2 separate regions of the Homo sapiens genome follow, and region 1 is linked to region 2. Evidence: promoter capture Hi-C in human tissues and cell types (Jung and others, 2019). All regions are on one chromosome and are shown on one strand. The core of a region is centred on a gene start or on the middle of the fragment in contact, and the rest is flanking DNA. Distances in the headings are between cores, read along the strand shown.

The links. Contacts are between HindIII fragments. The study calls those that stand out against the background at their distance.
Region 1: the fragment with the promoter of MAPKAPK5 here is called in contact with the fragment with the promoter of SH2B3 in region 2 in 1 of the 25 tissues and cell types used here (liver).

What each region holds. Positions count from the first base shown.
Region 1 is chr12:111,840,945-111,845,098 of GRCh38, reverse strand. MAPKAPK5 (MAPK activated protein kinase 5) reads right to left here and starts at 2,871. Exons shown (of 14, transcript NM_003668.4): 1 at 2,330-2,871. The coding sequence starts at 2,365. It overlaps MAPKAPK5-AS1 (MAPKAPK5 antisense RNA 1), which reads left to right and starts at 2,094. Exons shown (of 2, transcript NR_015404.2): 1 at 2,094-3,772. RefSeq lists silencers at 526-694, 2,376-2,725, 2,806-2,985 and enhancers at 2,186-2,285, 3,016-3,295. The HindIII fragment of the contact is 25,902 bases long and covers 1-4,154 here.
Region 2 is chr12:111,403,098-111,407,301 of GRCh38, reverse strand. It overlaps SH2B3 (SH2B adaptor protein 3), which reads right to left and starts at 1,379. Exons shown (of 8, transcript NM_005475.3): 1 at 1,025-1,379. LINC02356 (long intergenic non-protein coding RNA 2356) reads right to left here. Exons shown (of 4, transcript NR_187522.1): 4 at 3,992-4,164. RefSeq lists silencers at 1,041-1,620, 1,741-1,900 and an enhancer at 3,923-4,172. The HindIII fragment of the contact is 38,873 bases long and covers 1-4,204 here.

The DNA.
Region 1 (4,154 bases), core at 1,622-4,121, 440 kb before region 2:
AGCTATAACAACCACTAAGTGACATTGCTGCCCTATTTGTATACTTATCTCCTGGAACTATGTCTCTCTTCTGTTCAAAACTCTCCTATAGTTCCCCTTTTAATCAGGGTCAAACCCAAAGTTCTTACGATGGCCTACAAGGCCCTAAGTGCCTTGCTTCCCATTGCTGCTCTACATCATCTCCACTGACCCACTGCATTCCAGCCACCTTGCTCTTCCTACATCACACTACACCTGCTTCTACCTCAAGGTCTGTCCTTGCTATTCCCACTGCCTGTTATACTCTTCCCTGAGACAGTGGTGGCTTGCTCTCGCATTTCCATCAGAACTCTACAGTGTCACCTCCTCGGACTACCCTATTTAACACAGTACTCCTCACCCTTTCCACACTTAATTAAAACCACCTAGCAGTAACCCCACCCTCTAGAATATAAGCTACATGACAGTAGGGACATCTAGGAGTCTGGCTTGTACCATTTGTGTCTAGGACACCATCTGGCACACAGGAGACAATGTTTAAAAACTGGCCACATACGCTTTGATTCACAACCCAATTAAATAACTTCAGGCGGCATATCATGCCTCTGTGCCAATAAAACCCAAACCAAGGCTGGGCGCGGTGGCTCACACCTGTTATCTCAGAACTTTGGGAGGCCGAGGCGGGCAAATCATGACGTCAGGAGATGGAGACCATCCTGGCTAACACAGTGAAACCCCACCTCTACTAAAAATACAAAAAAATTAGCTGGGTGTGGTGGCACGTGCCTGTAGTCCCAGCTACTGGGGAGGCTGAGGCAGGAGAATCACTTGAACCTGGGAGGTGGAGGTTGCAGTGAGCCAAGAGCATCCCACTGCACTCCAGCCTGGATGACAAAGCCAGACTCCGACTCAAAAAAAAAAACAAAACCCAAAACAAAAGAAGGATATGTCAAGGCAGTCTTTTAGAATCTTTATGATTTAAAACCTCGTCTTCCTTGGGCCAGGCACGGTGGCTCACGCCTGTAATCCCACCATTTTGGGAGGCCAAGGCGGGCAGATCACGAGGTCAGGAGATCGAGCCCATCCTGGCTATTACGGTGAAACCCCGTCTCTACTAAAAATACAAACAAAAGAAAAAATTAGCAGGGCGTGGTGGGTGGGCGCCTGTAATCCCAGCTACTCGGGAGGCTGAGGCAGGAGAATGGCGTGAACCCAGGAGGCGGAACTTGCAGTGAGCCAAGATCGGGCCACTGCACTCCAGCCTGGGCGACAGAGTGAGACTCCGTCTCAAAAACAAACAAACAGACAAAAAACCTGGTCTTCCTTAATGTATATGTTATATGTTGATGCCTCCTTTAAAGGGTTAAGTTTCTTTGGAATGACTTGATGATTTTGAGAAACTATATACACCACCTAAAGAATTGGTAGAAATGTAAATTCTTAATCATTACTAGTAACTGTCTTGAAGGGGAAAATAACCCCAAGCTGCCAATAGATGCCTGTCCTTCAAGATAAAATGAAATTATTCAATGCACTGGGCTGACTTAACACTACAAATAAGTAAATAATACATCAAACTTTAAGCGTCAATGTTTAATTTTCATAAGACTAATTTCTTAGCTACAGCTGTCAAGACAGATAACTGGCCCTGAGTGGGCAAAATGTGCCTTTAAAAAAAAAAAAAGTTAAAAACAGGTTTTAGAAAACTTATTTTATTTGTGTAATTTTCGAACACACATTTGCTTTTCTTTTGGTTTAAGTGCAGTTAAGTCACAGGAACTGTTAACTTTTCCTAAGTAAACTCAATGCTTCCTAGGAGAAAGAAGAGGAAAAAGAAAAAGGGGAGAATACACGGAAAAGTGAGGACAACCTATTCCCCAAAGGACAGGTTTTGTACGGCGAACCACCTTTTTCCAACTGCAGATTTCCAGAAGGCTGATTTCAAACAAATCGGGAGGGATGGATAAATTCCAACTCTCCAAGTTCTGTAGACCATCCGGAAGCAAATGCTGGCGGCCTTGGGGAGTGATCGAAACGTGTAGTAGTAGTAGTAGGGCTCTCTTCGTCCCATTCATTGACACTTAATAGTGTCTCCAGGCCACTCACCTCTGTTCCAGCTGAGCACAAATCACACTCACCAGGGAAGCTGGCGGGAGTCGGACACACACCTACACCCACACCCATAACCCTTGGCCCCAGGGCTGTAAAGCGCGATCCACGGAATCCGGGGGAGGCCGAAACCCGGTAGTCGATGGAACCTCTCACTGCAAAATCTCCCTGCTTTTTGAGGCTAGAGCCGAGAAGAACGCCACAGGACAACGCGGGGGAAGAGGGGGCACCTCCCCCTTACCTTGATGGCTTTGTCCATGTCGCTCTCCTCCGACATACTCAGTGGGGCCCCCACAGCCGGGAGAGGCGGAGGCTGCTCAGCAGCCCTGTCCCCGCGCGGCCGAGGGAGCAAAGGGCTCGGCACTCGGGCCCCTGGGCCTCGTGGCGACGGGCAGCAGCCGCCCCTCGGGACCGGTGGGGATGAGGACCCCGGCGCCGGCTCTGCTTCGGCGGGCGGCTCTAGGCTGGCGGCAGCAGCAGCGGCGGAGGCGGCGGCCCCTGGGGACAGGTCTTTGTGCTGGGCCCCACGCGGCCGCCTCCTAGCCTCATCCCCAGCTGGGGAGGCAGGCTCCTGGGGTAGGGCGAGGCGGGGAGGGCCTCGACCCGGGGCGCCGTGCAAGGGCCTCGCGGGGCCGCCGCTTAGACCTGGGCTCGCCAGGTCCTAAAGAAGAGCCTGCGCCTCCGCCTCCGCCGCCTGCACCGCCGCGAAGCCGAAGCCGAAGCCGAAGCAGAGCTCGGCGCCGCTGCTCCCGCCGCCGCCTCAGCGCCACACATCGCCGGGACACCCGCGCCGGGCAGCCCCGCCGGCCGCCCTCACGCACGCGCTGTGCCCCGCGGGAGCTCCAGGCCGCCCCTCCTGCCGCCCAGCTTCGTGACTCCACGGCCCCACGCGCCCCTTGCTGCCTTCCGCTGGGGTTTCCGAGCCGCCCCCGAACCGCGCACCCGACTTGCAGGCGTCCGCCTGGGCCTCCCTAAGACACGCCGCATACAGGACAGGCCCCTGGGCCTTCCGCGGCGATGGCGCTGCGCTAATGACGTCATAGGCCCGGACTCGCGTGAGTGCGCGTGCGTTGGGGCCTCAGCCTTTATCTCCACTCTGCGGAGATTCACGCCTGGAAAACGCTCTTCTGAGAGGATCTGTGGAGGTCAACCCAGGAGAGAGAAGACAGGACTGAAGCACTGAAAGGGTCCTGCCGTTAAGGGCGCAGGATTGTATAGAATATATAATAGCAGTAGCAGCTCTGTTTACGGAGCATTAACCTTACGTGGAGTTATTTCCTGCATTTCCTCCTTTCGTCTTTACAAGGTAGCCGTTTGGCGTCGTGAGGTATGGATGTTCCCATCCCTAATTTGCAAAATAGGTAACTGAGGCTCAGGAGAGCTAGACTAGTTTGTGCACAGCCGAGAAGTGGTCAAGCTAGAATGGGACCCCAGGTTTGTGCTCCCTACTCTCCACCGATAACCTATCAAAGGGCTTTGCAAGAGCTTTTGACTAATCGTCTGTCAATGGTTCTTCATTCACGTATTAATTGCACATCAGTATGTGCCAAATCTACTAGACATTGGAGAAACAGTAGGAACAACACATGGTACCGGCACATGGATCTTTCAGGAAAACGAAGTAGGTAATAAACAGGAAAAAGCCCGAGTCTGATGCTAAGAAGAACATAAACAGGATGCTGAGGTAAGAGAATAACTGGATGTGGGGACTTCTTCGTATTAGATGATTAAGGAAGGAATCTCAGGAGGTAACATTTAAGCTGAGACCCCTGAGGAATGAGAAAGGGCTGGCTATTGGAAATCCAAGGAAAGATTTCTGGGCAGATGGGTAGAAATTTTAAGGTGGAAATAAGCTAAATATGTTCAAGAATCAGCAAGAAGGTCATTGTAGCTGGAGTAGATCGAGTAGGAGGAGACTGATAAAGGGTGAGGTTGGAGGCTGGGCGCGGTGGGTCACGCCTGTAATCCCAGCACTTCGGGAGGCCAAGGCGGGCGGATCACTTGAAGTCAGGAGTTCGAGACCGGCCTGGCCAACATGGCGAAACCCCGTCTCTATTTCAAAAAAA
Region 2 (4,204 bases), core at 130-2,629:
CCTCTGCTCTGAACCCCCCACCAGATTTCACTTCCTCCCACTCAGCCCAGCCTGGCCGTGCCCCTCCCTGGAGGCCCCCAGCTGCAGGCAGTGACCTCCTCACCTACATCATTGTGGCTGGGAATGGGGAAGAGAAACAGGAGAATGAGGAAACTAAAGAAAAAAAGAAGCGGGACAGGCAGGCAGACCCTCCTCTCCAGTTCCTCAAATGCAGTCCCCCTCCCTCAAAACAAAGCTCCCCTGGCCGGAGGGAGGGAAGGGAGGGAAGGGGATTTCTGCACCAGGCATCAGAGACCTCTGAAATACCATCCCTACCGTGCGGATCTAGAAGACCAACACCCACTCCAGACGTTTTTTGGTCGGGGGATTCCCAGGGAACCCCAGGCAAGAGGTGTGAGAGGATCAATACCAGAAACCTGTCTCTGGGACGCCTAGCCCTGGTGAACCGCCCAATTCAGCAGCATGCGGGGGCCTGGCCCGGTCGACCTCGGCAGTGCAGGAACTGGGGAGAGGGGCTTCCTGAATCAGGGCGCTACCCTCTTAGCCACATGGCCCGGAATGGGGAGTGGGGAGGGGCCGGCGCATCCTCCCCCGCTGCCCCCACACCCAAGGGCTCATCTGTGCTCACAGCCTCAGTTTGACTACTTTCACTTTCAGGGTAGCAATGGGTGACCCCTGACCGCTCCTCCCCAGGCACAAGTTGAGGGGAGGGCCGCCCCCAACCGGCGAGGCTACCGTAGGGTGGGCTGGGGGCGTCAGCGATGCCCTCTCCCCCATCCCACGGCCTCAGTTACCCCAACGCTCTCCCTAACACGTGTGTGGGTGGGGGTAGTGGCTGAGTGGGGGGTCGTAGGCGCTGGGAGCCGTCACCCCGGAACGCCTCCATCCGAGTTGGCTGCAGGGCAGTATTTTGGGCTGGGGGTGACGCGCAGAGCCCGGGCAGAACTGGACACGGGGCCTCCTCTTTCCCCACAAAAGCCCTCCCGGCCCCGGAGGAGGGGAGCGCGGGCAAACGCGGGCTCACCTGAGAGACAGGAGCTCTGGGCCCGGCCGGCCCATGGCGTCGCGCGCCCCCGGGCCCTCGAAATCCCGAGGGGGCGGGCGGGCCCCCGCCCTGGGCGCGTCCTCTCCCGCCCGCCGGCTCCTCGCTCGCGGCTCGCTCGAGCGGGGCTCAGGCAGGAAACCCGGGCTCGGAAAATGGCCAGCGCCTCATCATTTCCGCCGCCAGCGCTTGACAGTTGCGGGAGGATGCGCCCCCGGGCCGCCGCCGCCGGGGAAACTTTGCAGCGGCCGCCGTCGCCACCGCGGGCCGCGACAGTCCGGGCGGGCAGCCGGGCGGAGGCGGTGGCCCGGGCCCATGCCGCCCCGCGCCGTTATGTAAAGAGGAACCGGCCGTGCGAGCGGAGCCCGGCGGGGGAGGCCGGCCGCGACAGGGGCGGGGCAGGGGCGGGGCCACCAGGAGCCACGCCTCAGGCCGCGCGCGAGTCGGAGATTCGGCTGGAGGGGCGGGCCATGAGGGCGGAGCCCGGACTGGCCCCGCCTACCAATCCCGCTAGTCCGCGGCTGCCAGGGTCGGAGGGCTCTCCTGGCGCGGGTCCGGAAAAAGGCGAGGCCTTGCGAAGCCACGCCCACCACGTGCCCACCCGATTTCGCGTCCCACAGTCTGAAGATAGAAGTGAGGATCGGAGGGGCGGGGCGACTTTAGCCCCACCCACTCAACGCCGGCAGGTCACCAGGTGCCTCAGCGCCTGGAGGCGGGGCCAGATGAAGGGGCGGGGCCTAGGGCGGGCAGGGTCGAGGGGCCTGGCCTCCAGGGGGCGCGCCCTTGCTGACTCCCTCCTGCAGGGCCTTATCAGTGCCCGCAGGGCTGGGCGGTGCAATAGCGACCACGGCTTTCATCATCGCCCCAGGGAGGGAGCCCAGCCCTGCCCGACCCTGACTATCTGCGATCATGCTGACCCGACCCGCCACGGCCCCAGGCCCCCGATTTGGGTTCTGGCCCCAGCCCTCAGCTTTGCCTTTGCTACAGCCGGTGCCCGTATAGCCCAGCCTCGCTCCGGCCGCCCGTCCTGTCCCCCAATTCTAGGAGGGGTGCATCTTTCTCCAGGAAGCCCTCTCCGACCGCTGGCTTCCGTGGCCTCTGCGCCCACCCCCCTGCCCGCCCCCGGGCTACTTACATTTTCTCCACGGCCTCATGGGGAGCTGAGACGGACAGTGGGGTTCCCCCTAGTCCGGAGTGGGACATGCTCTCAGCCAGCCTCTCCCCCAACATGTGGGAGGGCGGGGAGGGAGGAATGTACTCTTCTCCCCCTCCCCCAACAGGAAACAAGTCGCCCACGCCCCCAGCTTGGAGGGGCCACCTCGAGTCTTCCCAGGCAGCAAGTGTCTCCATTCCACTGCCTCCCCCTCTTCCTACCCGGGCAAATGACTTGACTTCTCCGTACCTCTCCACTTCCTTGCCTATGAAATGGAAATAATGTGTACCCACTCTCCTGGCAGTGAGAATTAAGTGAGTTAATGCATTAAAGCAGTTAGCTCGAGGCTTGGCTCCAGGAAGCTCTCTGTGTTAAACAAATCGGCCCCAGTCCTGACCTTAGAACTACAGGAAGGGGTTCCCCAGAAGGTGGGGATTTCCAGACTCCGAGTAGATGGGGGAAGGGAGCGGTCTGCTACAGGATTCCTGGTGTCCAATGACCTTGAAGAAAAAGGCCACAAAAATCTGCTTTCCGCACATTTCCAGGCACTGTTCTAGGCGCTGGGAACACAGCAGTGAACAACACAGATATCCCTGCCTGCGTGGAGCTGATATTCTAGTGGGGGGACATAAGGCACGAATAAGCAAGTGGGATCAGCTATGACAATGACAAAACAGTTACGGGATGGAGAGCTGGAAGGGGATGTCTTAGATCCAGGGCTCAGGAAGGACACCTCTGCGGAACTAACATGTGAGCTTAGAACCCTCCATGACAAGAAGGATCCAGGTGCTATAACGTCTGAGGGAAGAGCATTCCAGGCCAAAGGAACAGCATGTGCAAAGGTGCTGAGGTGGGAATACATGTGGTGCTTTGGAATAAAGTCATAAAGGCAGTGGTGACACCTATACTGGTAAGAGATGATGTTTCAAAGGTGGGCCCATCACATGGTGTCTTGAAGGTCTTGGTGGGGACTTTGGGAATTATTTTGAAGGCAGTAGGGTGCCATGGAGGGTTGTGAGGAGAAGGACCTGTGGAGTGTGGGATTCAAGCTGTTCACACGGCATCTGAGGATGTGGGAAGAGGGGTGGGGTGGGGGAATGTCAATGAAGTCTAAACGAGGCCGGGTGTAGTGGCTCACACCTGCAATCTCAGCACTTTGGGAGGCTGAGGCCAGCGGATCACCTGAGGTCAGGAGTTTGAGACCAGCCTGGTCAACAGGGTGAAACCCTGTCTCTACTAAAAATACAAAAATTAGCCAGGCATGGTTGCACGCACCTGTAGTCCCAGCTACTGGGGAGGCAGAGGCAGAAGAATCGCTTGAACCTGGGAGGTGGACACTGCAGTGAGCCAAGATTGCATCACTGCACTCGAGCCTGGGAGACAGAGGTAGGCTCTGTCTCTAAAAAAAAAAAAAAAAAAAGTCTGAATGGATCATCCCATATTATTTGATCACTTTCTTATACCTGGGGACACTGCGGCCAAGAGAGAACAGTTACTTGTCTGTAGCCATGCAGCTGCCAGGCAGCACCCACAGAGCAGCCCGGTACCCAGCCAATGCCAAATGGCTGCTGAAATCTGCCAGCCACAAGCACTTTCCCTCTCACTGCCCAGACAGCAGCTCTGCTGACTTAAATTGGGACTTGTGGTTCTTCCCCTTTTTAATCACGGTTCAAACCTTCTCGCCTGCCAGATTTCTCGGAGGCCCAAACTGGTTTCCTTCCTCGCTTAGTCGCTTCTTGCCCACATCCCCGCCAGAGTCCAGTTTTTTGTTTTGGCGCTCGCTGAGACCCCAAGACTTCTCACTTTTTGTGTTTATTTTCCCTTGGAAAGGCAAAGGGATTCCAACAAATAACCTTCCCATCACCGTGCCCAGATTTGAGAGTGCCGCTGCCACGAACACAGCGAGGTCGTCGTCGCCACTGGGAGGCCGGCCAGCCACGGCTCTTCCCACTCGGCAGGTCACTGGGACCTAAGGAGAGAAAGGGTTATTCAAATTCCCATGACTGATC